Regions from separate parts of the Homo sapiens genome. Here region 2 is linked to region 1. Evidence: promoter capture Hi-C in 16 types of primary human blood cells and fetal thymus (Javierre and others, 2016). All regions are on one chromosome and are shown on one strand. Each heading gives the region's core, a stretch centred on a gene start or on the middle of the fragment in contact. The rest is flanking DNA. Distances are from core to core; before and after follow the strand shown. Region 1 holds the start of LRIG3 (leucine rich repeats and immunoglobulin like domains 3). Region 2 has its middle 250 kb from the start of LINC02388.

The links. The method cuts DNA at HindIII sites, captures the fragments that hold promoters and counts their contacts. A CHiCAGO score of 5 or more calls a contact.
Region 2: a contact is called between a fragment that was not itself captured here and the fragment with the promoter of LRIG3 in region 1, in 1 of 17 cell types (endothelial precursors). The highest score is 5.3, in endothelial precursors.

What each region holds. Positions count from the first base shown.
Region 1 is chr12:58,916,077-58,922,891 of GRCh38, forward strand. It overlaps LRIG3 (leucine rich repeats and immunoglobulin like domains 3), which reads right to left and starts at 4,428. Exons shown (of 19, transcript NM_153377.5): 1 at 3,924-4,428. The coding sequence starts at 4,159. It overlaps LRIG3-DT (LRIG3 divergent transcript), which reads left to right and starts at 4,628. Exons shown (of 6, transcript NR_183518.1): 1 at 4,628-4,714; 2 at 5,323-5,396. RefSeq lists an enhancer at 3,325-3,594 and silencers at 3,975-4,054, 4,475-4,584, 5,203-5,312. The HindIII fragment of the contact is 6,290 bases long and covers 1-5,500 here.
Region 2 is chr12:58,532,209-58,539,574 of GRCh38, forward strand. No RefSeq gene overlaps it. Among named protein-coding and RNA genes, the nearest start is that of LINC02388, 250 kb to the right of the region's middle. The HindIII fragment of the contact is 928 bases long and covers 4,891-5,818 here.

The DNA.
Region 1 (6,815 bases), core at 3,178-5,677:
AAAACACTAAAACTGAGGATTAACTTCATTTTAAGGATTATTTCACAGGGCAATCCTGTGAGAGAAATGAGACGGAGTGCTTAACTTTTTTCAACTAGTAATGGGATAAGATTCCTCCTACAAAAGACCTGTAAAAAATAAGAAACTCCCTTCAGAGACCAGTGCACATGCTGGGGACCCCTCATTTCTGATCCAGAAGCAGGAGCTTGAAACTTTGAATATTTCAGTTATTGCAACACATTTCCATTCTTGAGTTTTGTGTACTATTAAAACTACATTATATGTAGGAGGAAAAAAAACACCCCTTAAATGACATTTACTGCTAAATACTTACAGCTATGAAACTTTTAGTGTACCTAAATTTAGATTTAATATAGTTTACATTTGAGAAATGATTACTTTCCAGTTAAGGGATGTCACATTTTCCTAAATCTTCCTTACATTGTTTTTATGGCTAGACCATTAAAAACAGATTCAAGTTGTACAACGTCGATGTTTTCTTAAACCCAGATCATAAAACATTCAATAAGAAAGGCAGATTCTTCATGTTTAGAGTTCCATTAATAGCATCTTCCCCACAAAACTTTTACAAAAACTTTTTGTAGTGGGGTTAATGAATGGGAAAGGTAGTAAGGTACGGAAGTGTTAACTGTACCCAGAGCTCAGCTGGCCAACACTTGAAAGTCAAACTCTTTCTATATGGTTAGACAGACTTCTCTCTTCCTGAATATTAGCAAATGAATAAATATATATGAAAATAATCAATTTGCAACATTTGGTTCAAGCTGTCATTTTCTTCCTTTTAGCATTTGGAAATCTGACTTCCAAGTCAAATTTTAAATGCAAATCCAGCACAGCTTCTTAAGCAATCCCACTGGGGCCTGCAGAGCTGCTAATTCAGCACAAATCTGGAAAGCTGAAAAACAAAAAGCCAGGCTATAGCTGTTTTAAGACACTGATCCAAAGTGACTCATAAATCAGCCTGCTATATTCAAGTTTTAGTCTGGAAAATACAGAAAAACAGCTGTGAAAACCATAAGGACTATTACCCCCACCCCACCCCCAACTGTGGTCCGGACCATAAGATTTATAACAGGTCAACACTAAAGAAGTCACACCAGCAGAAACTACCTTTGGGACTTTCGCCTGGGTCCTGTTGAGAACTCAAACATTTCTACATAAGACAAATAATTCTGAAATGCCAGTGAGAATTTAATAATACTGGAAGTTCTCATTGGCAATTTAGCAACTTTTCCGTCTCTGGGCTAAATAACATTCTAACAAGCATTCCTCTTTAGGTTGAGAACTGTTTAAGCGCAAACTCTTGACATAAACTCTAGCTTGCCTTTAATGGCAGTTGTGAGCAAGGCTTGGCGTAGTTACTGGGTTGTTTTTTTTTAGACAAAGTCTCGCTCACATAGTTACTCTTTAAGAGCCACTTTCATTAAAGCATTAGAGGTTATTTTCTAAAAGGAGTACTGATACAGTATTATTATTTTACAGCTCAAACTATTCGACTTTTCACACATGGGACTCCTATAGTAATAAATCACAACCAAATAAAGTGGAAAAAATACATACACACGTAATTTTTCTTAAACTTGCAAATTCAACAAATGAAACAAAAGATAGACACTGAACTTTTTCTGAAAAGTGCTTTCATAAGCCAGTCCAAAGACAAACTCCTACTATTTTGATTACCCAAGGAAAGGGAAGGTAAGATATGGGGAACAAAAACATGCATTTTTCTATTTATATCTGAACTCGGAAATCATCTCCTTAAGACGATTTTTCTAATTACGAAAAACTTTAGTAGCTTTTTAGACCACCTATTCTAAAATACCAAATAACAGAGAAAGTAAAACTCAATTCCACGTGTTTTTCTGCTCCTTTCAAAAGTGGAAAGAGGAGACCTCTAGAGCTTTAGGTACAAACAAAAGAAATATTTACAATAAAGAATCCAGACCACATGGTTTGGTGACACCTACAAAGATGGTTAAAAGTCACAGAAGTACAGGAATGACAGAGCTGTCCAATAAGTGATCACAGCAGGGTTCCTGACAACAGACTGAGTGCTTATTTATACAAGTGGAACTTATTTTCACATACATTTAAGGAATGTGGGCTAGTATTGAGACAATTTACTGCTGGTGGAAATGTAATTAAAGACTGTGCTAACCAAATAAACTCTAATTTGTTTTTAGTGTGCCACCAAATTATCTGCAAAACAAAATCCTAATTAGGTCAGCTACTTTTAAGACAATGTTTAAATAGGTATCGAACCCCTTTTGGTTCAACTCAACTTCTGATCAAGGGCAACACAGATTTTTTTTCTAAACATCTAAATCCAGGAAAAAAGAAAAAAAGTACTGCACACTAGCATGATCACAATAGACAACTTGACATTGAAAAACTATCGAATACAAGTTAGATGCCGTGAATAATCTAAGCATATCTAAATACACTCCAGGAAGCACTGTATTCATTTTCTCTTTCTCATCCCTCTATTATTCCTAAGTGTTCACCTCCAGTCATTTACATGTTCAGTTCCATATGTTGTCAATAGAGCCATTCACTCATGAATAAGGCAGCATGACCTCCACAAGAGGCAATTTAACAGAATTAGCCACAACTAATTGAAAGTCTCCCTGCTTTCGGTTAAAGACCTTATCTCCTCTTCCAATTGCAATAAAAACTACTAAATAAAACGTCCCAAGAAATTAAATATCAATCCAATACTAATTCTACTTTATTAAACTAAGGCTTATTAAAAACACAAGGAATATACTTTCTGATGGCCAACAATTCTACATTCACAAAAGTTATTTAGATTAGCACAATAATTTTAAAATATAAATTCTTAAACACCTGACCAAACCTCCTACCACATTAGGGCATTGGAATAGTTCACTAGAATTGTTTTAAAAACTTAAAATTTTCATTGCAATTCTGCTAAGTCAAAATATAAGATTACGTATGAAGTGCACTTTTATTTTAAACAGAACAACTACTTTAAAAAATACAAATTTTGATTGTTTACTTTTTACAGCACTCCAATTTTAAAACTGGGACTGAGGAAGAAAAGAGATGACATTTGGAAAAGATCAGCATTTCCAACTAAATTACATTTTCTTCCTTGTTCTTCACGCAGTTGGCAGTGATTTCAGGTTTTCAGACTTCGCAGCTAAAAATCCAAAAACTTGCATAAGAGCTCCCTGCGCTCTCCCCTAAACCGTCTGGGCGTTCTGAGGAGCTACAGAAATCACGCCCTTGATTCTGGATAATCGAGTTCCGCCCTTTCCATAGCTACCGACCAGTCTTTACAATCTGGTTGAGGAGTGGGAACTTACGGTCTGCTAATGTGAAAAAGCAAGCAGAGGGAGAACAACAGAAGTACGTCCACCATAACTTGGAGAATGACCGAATTCTGTTGAGGGGGCTTCCCAAATGAAAAGCCTGACTTCAGTTACTGGGTGGGAACAGGAAAAGGAGTCTGACGCAGCTAGAAACTAAAACTGAACCAGACTCATAACTCAGCGAGAACTGCAAACTCCTGATGTGTGCAGGTTGCCGCTTATCTCCCCTGGGCCTGGCAGGAGCAAGCATTTGAACCCCTTGGCTAGCTTAGGGCGCAGGACTTCATCCCCAATCTCTGGCGTCGTTACTGGCCCCCAACCCTGGTCTACCTGCAGCCAGTTAGGACGCGCCAAGAGCCCACCTGCGCCGCCCGCAAAGCACGTGGGAGGGAAACTGAGGCCCGGACAGTTCTTTTTCCACGCCCACGGAGCGCCGATCGCGGCCTGGGCCAGAAGGAGCTATACGGCAAAAAGGGGACTGCACGCCGAACCCCATTCCCCGCCGGCTCCTGTTTTCTCGAATCTCCAGCGGCCCGGGCCCCCTCCCCCCGCGGGAAGAATACTTACAGCCGAGCGACCCAGGACGGGAGTGGCTCGGGAAGACGCGCTAGCCGCTTACGACTGCAGTCCAGCAGGTCCCCGAGGCAGCGGCAGGTAGTGGGGCATGGGCGCTCGGCGGCTACCCCAGAGGGCTGCCCGAGTTCCCCGCGACCGCCGCTGTCTGACCGGCCAGCGCGCCCCAGCACCGCGCACAGCAGCAGCCCCAACCCCGCGGCGCGCGCACGGAGGCTCGGCGCGCTCATCGCGGTCCAGCGGCCTAGGTCTCTACCCGAAGCTCCCAGCCGGCGCGCGCTCGGGGCCCGGCACAAACTTCCAGCCGAGGGTGCACGCCCGCCCTCGCGGTCGCGTGCGCGCTCCTCCCTCGCGCTGCCCGGTCAATTCCTTCTTTTACTCCCGGCGGCGAAGCCCTTTCATGCCCCCAAACAGCAGGAGGGAAACCGAAAAGAACTGCCAACTGCAACAGAGTTGCAGCTTGAGCAGCGTCGGCTCGCCGAAGCCCCTTCTTGTCTGCAAAAGAAACTTTTTCGCCTCCACCCCGCGGCACTGCGCCAAGTCCCCGCGCGGCGGAGTAGCAAGGCGGGCGGGTAGAGGCCGACGCGCGCCCATTGGCCGACTCGGCTGCGGGCGTCCCCGTGGCCACGTGACAATAACACCGCTCCAGCCGGGGGCCTACGCGCGGGAGAAAGTGGAGCTGAGATTGTAGGAAATTCAGAGTTATATTTTCCAGCCTCTCCAGCCAGAAGTCTCCACTACGTCGTGGGAAACATATATCAAATGGAGTTGAAAGGCAAAAGGAAGTGAGCAAATACTGGGCTAGTTCTCGGAGTTGGAGGTATTTAGGAGAACTTCAGGGAAGTAAAGTTTAATTAGCAGTGTTTTCAGGAAACTTTTCAATTCCAAATTAAAGACACTGATAAATTATCCTACCATCCACAGATGAAAGAGTGGTTTCAATGAAAACAGCTCTTTCAACGTTAATGCTGGTGGGTGTTCCCCCATACATCGGCTTCAAAAGTAAAAACAATAATAAAACGTAAAACTCGTGGTTTTGGAAAGTGTATATTGAATTACAAATAGCCAGCCTTCGTGCACTGGATAAAGCTGGGCGGGGTGGGGGATGGGAGATGACCTTCTAATAGACCTCGATGGCAATCATAGATTCCTGGTAATAGTAATAATAAAAGTAGTCACAGTGACATTTCAAAGTAAAATGAAAACTAAGACCTTGGAGGAAAAAATTAGTATATGCACCTTGGTCCACTTGCGCTTTGAGTAATGACACATGTTGATTGAGAATGCTACCAGGGTAAAAGTACCTCCCGGCCTCCTCAGCTGGGGGAGTGGATGTTTGGGGCTGGATTCAGGCTACAGGACTTCCCAGTGAAGTTTGTTCCTTAACTTACAGGTGATCAGCGCCACAAGATGTTGAAACTAATGGAGACCGCAGAGATCATGTGCTAAGGGGCCTTCCTCCTCTGGGTAAGGAAATAGACCTAGAGAACGTAACTAATGTGTTTGTTGCAAAAAAAATAAAAATAAAAGCAAGACAGAAAACATGAACAAACCAAAAAACAAACCCTGGAAGCTTAAAGTAAGTTTTCACTTCTATACATTGTTTATTGCATGCTGTCTGCCCAAGCTTGTCTGTCCTTGGAGTTGCGTAAACTGCTCATGATTGAGGAGTGGAGATAGCTTGTGGAGTTGAGACTTTAACCCTGACTCTAAGGCCCATTGATTTTTCACTGTAGCAAATCACTCCCACTTACGGGGGAAGGAAAAGACTCACTTTGAAGTTAACACACCCTATTTTAGATATGGTATCCCATTTTCTTATTTCCAGCTACCATTAACAACAACGCTACTACCTTTTTGGATGATGTATAATTATAATTAGAAAATATCTATAATGATGGCACCTTGGTTTTGAATTTATGATTTTGTCTGCTTGGGAGTAGACAAAACACACTACAGTCATAGTAAGGATTTTCCAGCTCAGTATCCCCCATCTATTTTTATTTATTTTTTTTATTTTTTTATTTTTGAGATGGAGACACTCCAGTCTGTCACCCAGGCTGGAGTGGGGTGCAGTGATGCGATGTCGGCTCGCTGCAACCTCTACCCCCTGGGTTCAAGCAATTATCCTGCTTCAGCCTCCCAAGTAGCTGGGATTACAGGTGCCCACCACCACACCCGGCTAATTTTTTTGTATTTTTAGTGGAGACAGGGTTTCACCATGTTGGCCAAGCTGGTTTCTAACTCCTGACCTCAGGCTATCCGCCCGCTTTGGCCTCCCAAAGTGTTGGGATTACAGGCGTGAGCCACCACACCCGGCCCCCCATCTATTTCATACAAGGAAAATTAGGTATAATTCATTGAAGTTTTTAAAAAGAAGAAAGATTCCATTGTACACATGCCATTATGCATAAGCAAGGTAACATCAGTATGGAGGCTTGCTCTTGAGACATGAGACATATGACAGGGATATAAATGTGCTACCATTTTGGGGAGTTTTGGCTCATTTCCTTTTCTCATTCTTTATTCTCCTTGTATAATTTCATCTTCTTCCATGAATTCCATTTACATTTACATGCTGACATATACAACATCCATATTTCAGCCCAGGTCTTTTTCCTAAACTCGAAATCCATATGTGCAATTACCCACAGGTCATTAAAAATTGGATGTTCAAATGTAACATGTCTAGAATTAAATTTCACCACCCTTGAAACTGACTTGTTTCCTCCTGAATTCACTGTCTTAAAGAGTGGATACTTCCCTCCATCCAGATGAATGCCCCAGAAACCTGAAAGTCACCTTAACATTACTTCATTCTCACCACCACCACCACCACCACCAGAGTCAATCAATTAGCAAGTCATGTTAAAGCTAGCTCCTAAA
Region 2 (7,366 bases), core at 4,105-6,604, 380 kb before region 1:
CTAGAATGTAGAAACTAGAATTTGATTGCAGAGCACTATAATAATATTTGAAGTCTGTTGTATTATTCCAGGCTTTATTAACAATAGAGCAAGTGTATTTTAATTACATACTATTGGCCTAGTAACTCTTCATGCATGTTTGTTGTATTCAGAAAGTCCCAAGTTAATTAATTCCTCTGGGTCAGTGTCTCTCAAACTTTAGTACATATTAGAATCACTTGGAGGGCTTGTTAAAACATAGATTTCTGGGATCCATCCCCAGAATTTCTGAATCATTGTGTGGAGTGGAGCCTGAGATTGGCATTTCTGAACAGTTCCCAGGTGATGCCAAGGCTGCCTGCCTGGGGGCCATATTTTAAGAACTGTTAGGTATATTTAGGTATATGTTAGATACCTGGATTGGATGAGTTGAACTTCAGTTAAGATTGTGATAAGCAGACTACATTTCAAATCTTCTCATCTTTTCCATCTGTGTTTTTACTTACCATTACTATCCAATCCTCCATCAGTTTCGCCTGAAGTACAAGAGCCTCCAAACTGGTCTCCAACATCCTTTCTTGCCTTCCTCCAATTTATCCTCTACAGAGCAGCCAGGATTATATTTTTAAAGCCTAAATCAGATCATTTTACTCTCTTGCTTAAAGCTCTTTGAACACTTTTAGTAGCACGAACTCCATAACACCCAGTCTTTGACCCGTGGCTCTCCAGGGCTTGCGTGATTTGGTCCCTGCCCATCTTTCTATCTTCATCTCCATCTCCTGCCTTCCTCCCTGTGATTCACTAAGCTTTTGTCACACTGACATGCTTTCAGCTCCTTCAAACACACCAACATTTTCTCCCTTGAGATTTTTAACCCCCACCCCCTGGCATGCCCTTTGCTGCCATAACCTCTCTTCATCTACTCTATGTCTGGCTAGATCTTCCTTTTCTTTCAGATGTCAGCTTAAATATTATCTACACAAAAACATCTTTTTTGATCATACACAATTAAAGTATGTCCCTCCTTTTATCCTGTTTCTTATTAGACTTTATTATATTCTTTTATTGCCTTTACCACAGTTGTTTACTTTTCTCATTAGGCTCTAACTTGCTTGAGAATGGGACCATGTCAACACAGTGCCCGAGAGACACTAAGTATTTGATTTGTTGAATCACTGAAGACATAAGAGCAAACAAGCTGTTACTGAGTAATATTTATTCCCTGGGTTCAACTAGAGTAAGGATCCTGTCACTTGGGATGTTGAAACTTCAATTAATGCTACTGATGACTTTGCTCTGAGTTCTACCCATCTTTCCATCCCTGACTTGTGAAATTTTTGGTGGCCACCTTCAGCATGATTAGTATTAAGTCACAAGGCTTCACACCATTGCTTCAGTTCTACCTCATGCTATTCCAAAGAGCCTCCTGAGAGGGCTTCCCTAAGAGCTGAGAAAATTGAGAGGCTTTGATTAAATCAGAGTGTGTCCAGAACTAGAGAAGAAATTATCCTTTGGCAGTTTAGACTACATCAAAGACCACATTAGGATATTGTATTTAGTTTGGTATAAAGAAAAGTTGGAGCCTATTCAATAGAAGGAAGCCAGTACAGTCCAGAATTTGCGAAGTCTGTCACAGGAAGAGCAGTGAATAACTGGGAGAAACCTGGGAAGGAAGAAGCTGTCATCTTGGGAAAGAATGAAGCTTGTACTAACTTGTCCTAGAGGGGATGGCATATATTAGACAGAAGTTATAGGGAAGTGGATTTTGAGTCAACATAAGAAGGCATTTTCAACAAGTAGAGTTGTTGATAAATAGAATGAATTTACCTTGTGAGTGAAATTCTCTCATAACTGGAAGTGTTCAGACAGAAACAGTGAAAAAGGTGAGAGGAAGAAGGGAATTAACATTTACTGTGAACCAGTTATTTTACCTATATAGTTATATGGAGGAAATCTTATTTTCCTGGCAGAAGACTTTTCCAAATCTGTACTATCTTCCTGGTGGAGGTGATATTTCGAGATGCCTCTTGGATTGGGTGTGGTGGGTGAGATGCTCACAGAACATGTTCGAGGCAGAGTAGATGATCGTGGCTCAGTTGACCAACAAGCTTTTATTTTGCTGAATTTTATTTGTAAACTGAAGAGATAACTCAATATTTCAAAATAATCAAAGAAGGGTGAGGAAGATTTTTAGGGAGATTAATTTAGGGAAGAAAACAATGTGAGACGGGGTAGCTGCCAGAGGAGAGAAATTCTGAGGGAACAACAGAGATACTTGATGGGAATTTGATGATGTTTCTGCTGTGGGTCTACAATATAAAATCATTTTTCCCCCCATCTCCCCATATAATTTCTGCAAAATATATATTTCTTTGTTAATGAACTGTGGCTTTGGCTACATTTTGTAGAAATCAATAAATACTAAATTTAGCCCTAAAACTGGTTCACAGCAACCACGGTGGACCATGGAAAAACACACCTGTGTCACACATCTCAATTCTCATAGCAACAGGATGCAGCGAGCAATTGTGTCTTCATATACAGATGAAGAAAATGAGGTCCAGGGAAATCGAAATCAGTAGGTTATTTATCTTATTTATTCTGTAACAGAGGCAACTTGAAAGAAATTCATTCCTTGGATGTAAGTGCACTGAAATGGCTTCCGGGATGTGAGAATGGACACACATTGGTGTGTATTGAATCAAATCTGCCAGATTATCTTCAATATCTTTTATTTCTTAAAATTTCATGGAGCAGGAAAGAGTGTCCAAGAGTGATCTCTCTGATAATACATGAACAAAGAGTTGTAGTAGTGATGCAAATAGAGATTACGAGGTAGTGACTTCGTAGGACTGGATGCTATAGACAGGGCTGGCTTTGTGTGTGAGTCCAGTTCAGTCATACAAAACCCATGCTTATAAGAAGCCTACACTTGATTTAGTGCTCTGCTGTTGCTATCTTGAAATTCTTAATAATTTTAAATTTTTAATAATTTTTGAATAAGGAGTCTTGCATTTTTATTTGCACTGAGCCCACAAATTATATAGCTGATCCTGGCTACAGTCAAAGAAGTTTTATACCTGGTACTGGCATATTATCCAAGGAGCCTGACAATGTTTTAGAGGCCGCAGAATCTTGATCTTAGAAGGGAACTTGGCCTAGCACCCAATTTAGTAGTTTTCACTACTCTCTATTTAGCAGAATCACCTAAAGAACTTTTGAAAAATATGTATATCTGTGTCCCAAACCCCAAAATCCCAGATTTAATTGGTGTGGGTGGGACATCATCTTTTTTTAAAAGCTCTCCAGCTTATTCTGAAAACTACTGACCTAATTCATTGGTACCTACTATTGGTACCTACTATATAGTTATGCCTGATTTGTTAAACTTCATTTACTCATTCACCAAATGTTGACTAAGTTTCTACTATGTGTAGAACATTGTAATAAGTTTTATAGGGCATAGGTAGATGAATAAACAAAGGTCATTGCCATCAAGAATCTAATAATATAACACATTTTCTAAGTGCTTTGACCTCCCAGTCCATCTCTCTGGTTCTCTTGCTTCCTTCCTCTCTCTTTCCAGACTGAGTCTTTAGCATCATTATACAACTTCTTTTCCCTGAAAGGTCCAAAAGCTTTAAATAATGTAACTTTTTTTCTCATCAAAATGTTTGGGCTCCCAATGTAATCCACATCCCTGCCTCTAGGTACTACTATACTCCTAGAGAACTGGCGTATACATTTATAAAGGCCCATTGTTAGAAGAAATTTACTTTGACAATAAGCAGCCCCAATCTTTATAGGCATGTTTCAGAGCAAAGCTCACTCATTTTGTCTCCTACAAGAGCTCCTCATCATCACCACCTGGGTTGTAATTGAAAGTTTAGGTGTGTTTTGCAGTCATTTTCCTTGGCATGAAGCCAGCAGGGAATGTCCTCCAATAATATAAATGCAACGTGGGTGTGGCACAGCCCATATTTTTAATCTCAAAAGGAGTGTTTATTGTTAACATTTGGGAGGATGGAGGATAGGGAATTAATTCTTTGTGTTTCTCTTTCTTGGGTATTTTCTTAGCTACAGGAGCCATGAAAGGCTCTTGCTGTGACCAAAAACCAATTATAAATCTGTTTAGGAATTCATTTTTCATCTATTCCTAGCCCCACATTCCCTGAATCCCCACACTAGTTTAGGATTCATGACCATCCCTTTCTGAGGACCTCCTGCCTCGGCCACAAGTACTATGGGGAACACTCACAGCTTCTTCATGAAGGATTATTTAGAGCTCTAATGCCTGTGAAAGGAATAGTTTTACTTAATTCTTGGTCATGCAGGGAGTGGGCCTATAGTTTTAGGGCTTTGAAGAAGAGTCTACTGGGTGAATGTCCTCTCTCCTCAATCACCACCTTCTTTACACATATCTTTTTATACGGCCTGCAGTCAAATACTTCAAACCCTCACCTGGGAAACTCAACTATATTCAACAGTAGGAGAAAGTCCACTGGCCTGCCTACCTCCAGCCATGGTTGTTTGCCTCTCCTAAATCAGTGCTAATTCCAGAAAGAGGGGTGGGGCTCTGCCTCCCTGAGAGAGCCAAGGGCATATCCAGCTTTTGTGTGGTCAGGAGTATATACAGTTTTGAGGCTCCCTCTTTGTTCTAGAAAAAGAAGACAAAATTATGAATTAAAAATTAGGTAAATGATTGAACGATAAAAGAATTCTCAATTAATTACTAGAGTCTTGGTGGCCCAGCAATTCTTTAGATCTTTTTAAAGCAATTTACCAAAATGCTTACATCAAAATGCTCTCTGATTGCCACCTGGCTTCTCCTTACCACCTAGAATGCTTCACACTTCCTAGCACCTCACAGCCCTCATGAGACTCTGAGCAGGTGCAGGGACCTGAGGCAGAAGCTTCCTTAACTTTAGGGTGAAATATTCCAATTGTTTCCTGTTCTCATCAGCCAGGGGCAAGAGGCTGATTCATGCTGGTTTATTTACAAGGTGGTACCTCTAGCTGAAGTGAGGACTTCTTTCTGTTAGAGATACATGGCCTTCTCTCATATGAAGAAAGACTATTTCTGTTCTTAACAGAACTCTGATTTTTACCACTTCTTAGTTATAAGTCTCCGCATTATCCTGTTCCTCCCTGGTTCTGGCTTAGATTACAAGAGCTTGTATTTATTTTAAATGTCTTCCACTGCCACACAGATGGAGAAACATCAACTCTTGGTTCCAAATTTACCCCTTAAAAGAAGAATGTTCCAGTTCTTCCTGCCATATGTGTGCCGCTGACTCAGAGAGCAAGAATGTGGTGGGAAAACAGACTGTGTTTACAGATGTCTTCTGCATGGCCTGTGCATCTCATAGACACACTGGCAACACATACCAGCACACACATGCCGTCTACGTGCTCTGAAATGACTTCCAGGGTGTGAGAATGGACACACATTGGTGTGTATTGAATGCAGTGGGACTTTATCCTGGCCGAGGAAATTCTGTAAACACCTAATGGTGGAAAACACCGACTTTAAAATAGTTTAAAACTATAATTGTTTGTAAACCCTGGTAAAGCTAGAGCTGGTTCTCTTTAAATGAGGCAAGAGTGTAACATCCAAGATTCATTCCACGCCAAAATTCTCTGGAGCATGAGTGATGGTAAGAAAGGCTATTAGGTTAACAAGAACATCAAATGGATAGAATAATCTTATTTCTCTCTCTCAGTGGAGGTTCTGTTTTGAATCTGCTGGAGTCTAATAATTAGTTGGTGTTGCTCTGAATTGTATCTGACATGTCTCTTCATGTTAGCTTTGCTGCATCTTATGCTTTAGGCTTTTGCAAGCTTCTCTGGATTAACGGATGGGGAGGGAGAATAAAAGGGTACTACCCATGGTGCCCAGAAGCAAAAGGAAAGCAAGTGAGAAGAAGGTGCATGTGGATGGAATTCCGAGAAGGGCCCACGCCATTCAGACTTAAGAACTGCTAAGTCCCAAAGGAGATACTTCTAGCATCTAGCAGGCATCTGGTAACCTAACCTCTCTGTATCGCACATCCACCCAACCCACCTTTCCACTGGGAGTGTCAAAGTATGTAATGAAGCTCCCTGTCTTCCGTAAAGAAGTATCCTGCTTAGTATATGTAAACACAACACCTTGATCTTTTTTGTTTTGGAAAATAAAAACAAAACAAAATATCCAAAATAAACCAGAGATTTCTTTAAAAAGAAACGCACGCAAATAAAAACAACAACAAAAGACACTTTGAGTTTGTACTCCTGATGGAAAAATCATTACTGTGGACAAAGTTATGAGAAGTCAAAGTATAGTTTGTTTTTAATAAGAGCTATCATTACATTCATGCTCAGGATGTGGCACTCAGAGTACTACGTATGTGTCACCACAGCTAAGATAGGTACTGTTACTCCAGGTAAGTAGAGTTCCCCCAAAATTCATGCCTACCTGGTACCTCAGAATGTGACCTTATTTGGAAGTAGGGTCTTTGCAGGTGTAATCCAGTTAAGATGAGGTCATACTGGATTAGGGTGGACCCTAATCCAAGGATAAATGTCCTTCTAAGAAGAAGGTAGTGGGATACAGACACAGAGAGAAAACATCACGTGAAGACAGAGACATAGAAGAGAAGGCCATGTGATGGTGAAGGCGGAGATGGGAGTGATGCATCTGCAGGTTAAGGAAGGCCAAGAATTGCTGGCATTTCCAGAAGCTAGAGGAGGCCAGGAAGGATCCTCTCCCAGAGGCTTTAGAGAGAGCATGACCCTGAGAACACCTTCGTTTTAGACTTCTGGCTTCCGGAACTGTGACAGAATAAATTTCTATTGTTATAAGTCACTGGGTATGTGGTAATTGGTTATGGTAGCCCCGAAGAAGTAACATACAGATGAAGAATCTGTGCTTCTGATGGTCTTGCTGAAGCTCCTTGTGCAGGGGACGTGGTGAGCTGGCTACACACACAGCCTTCCACCTCGGCAGGGAAACTGCACAGTGAGGAGCACAGGGGCAGTCACAGCCAGTTCCTGGGCTCATAATCGACGACATTGGTCTTGTCCATTTGGACAGATCCACAGGATTCTAGAGAGAGGTTAAGAATGAAAGTGTAATGGTGATCATAAACCGCAGGAACAAAATGTATATACCTATTTATTTTTATTCTCACTTCATCCTAAAAAGGATTTAAAGTTCCTTTCATAGATGAAAATAATAGGACAAAATAAAATAAATTTAAACATAAGAAAGATGAAACAAAGGGAAGAAAAACAATGGTGGAATGCAGCAGTAATAAACCTACATGACGTCACAGCCCTTCCTTCACCTCCCCAGCCCCAGCTAAGAAGATGGACCCTCATGGTATGGGCAAGAAATTTCAGGATG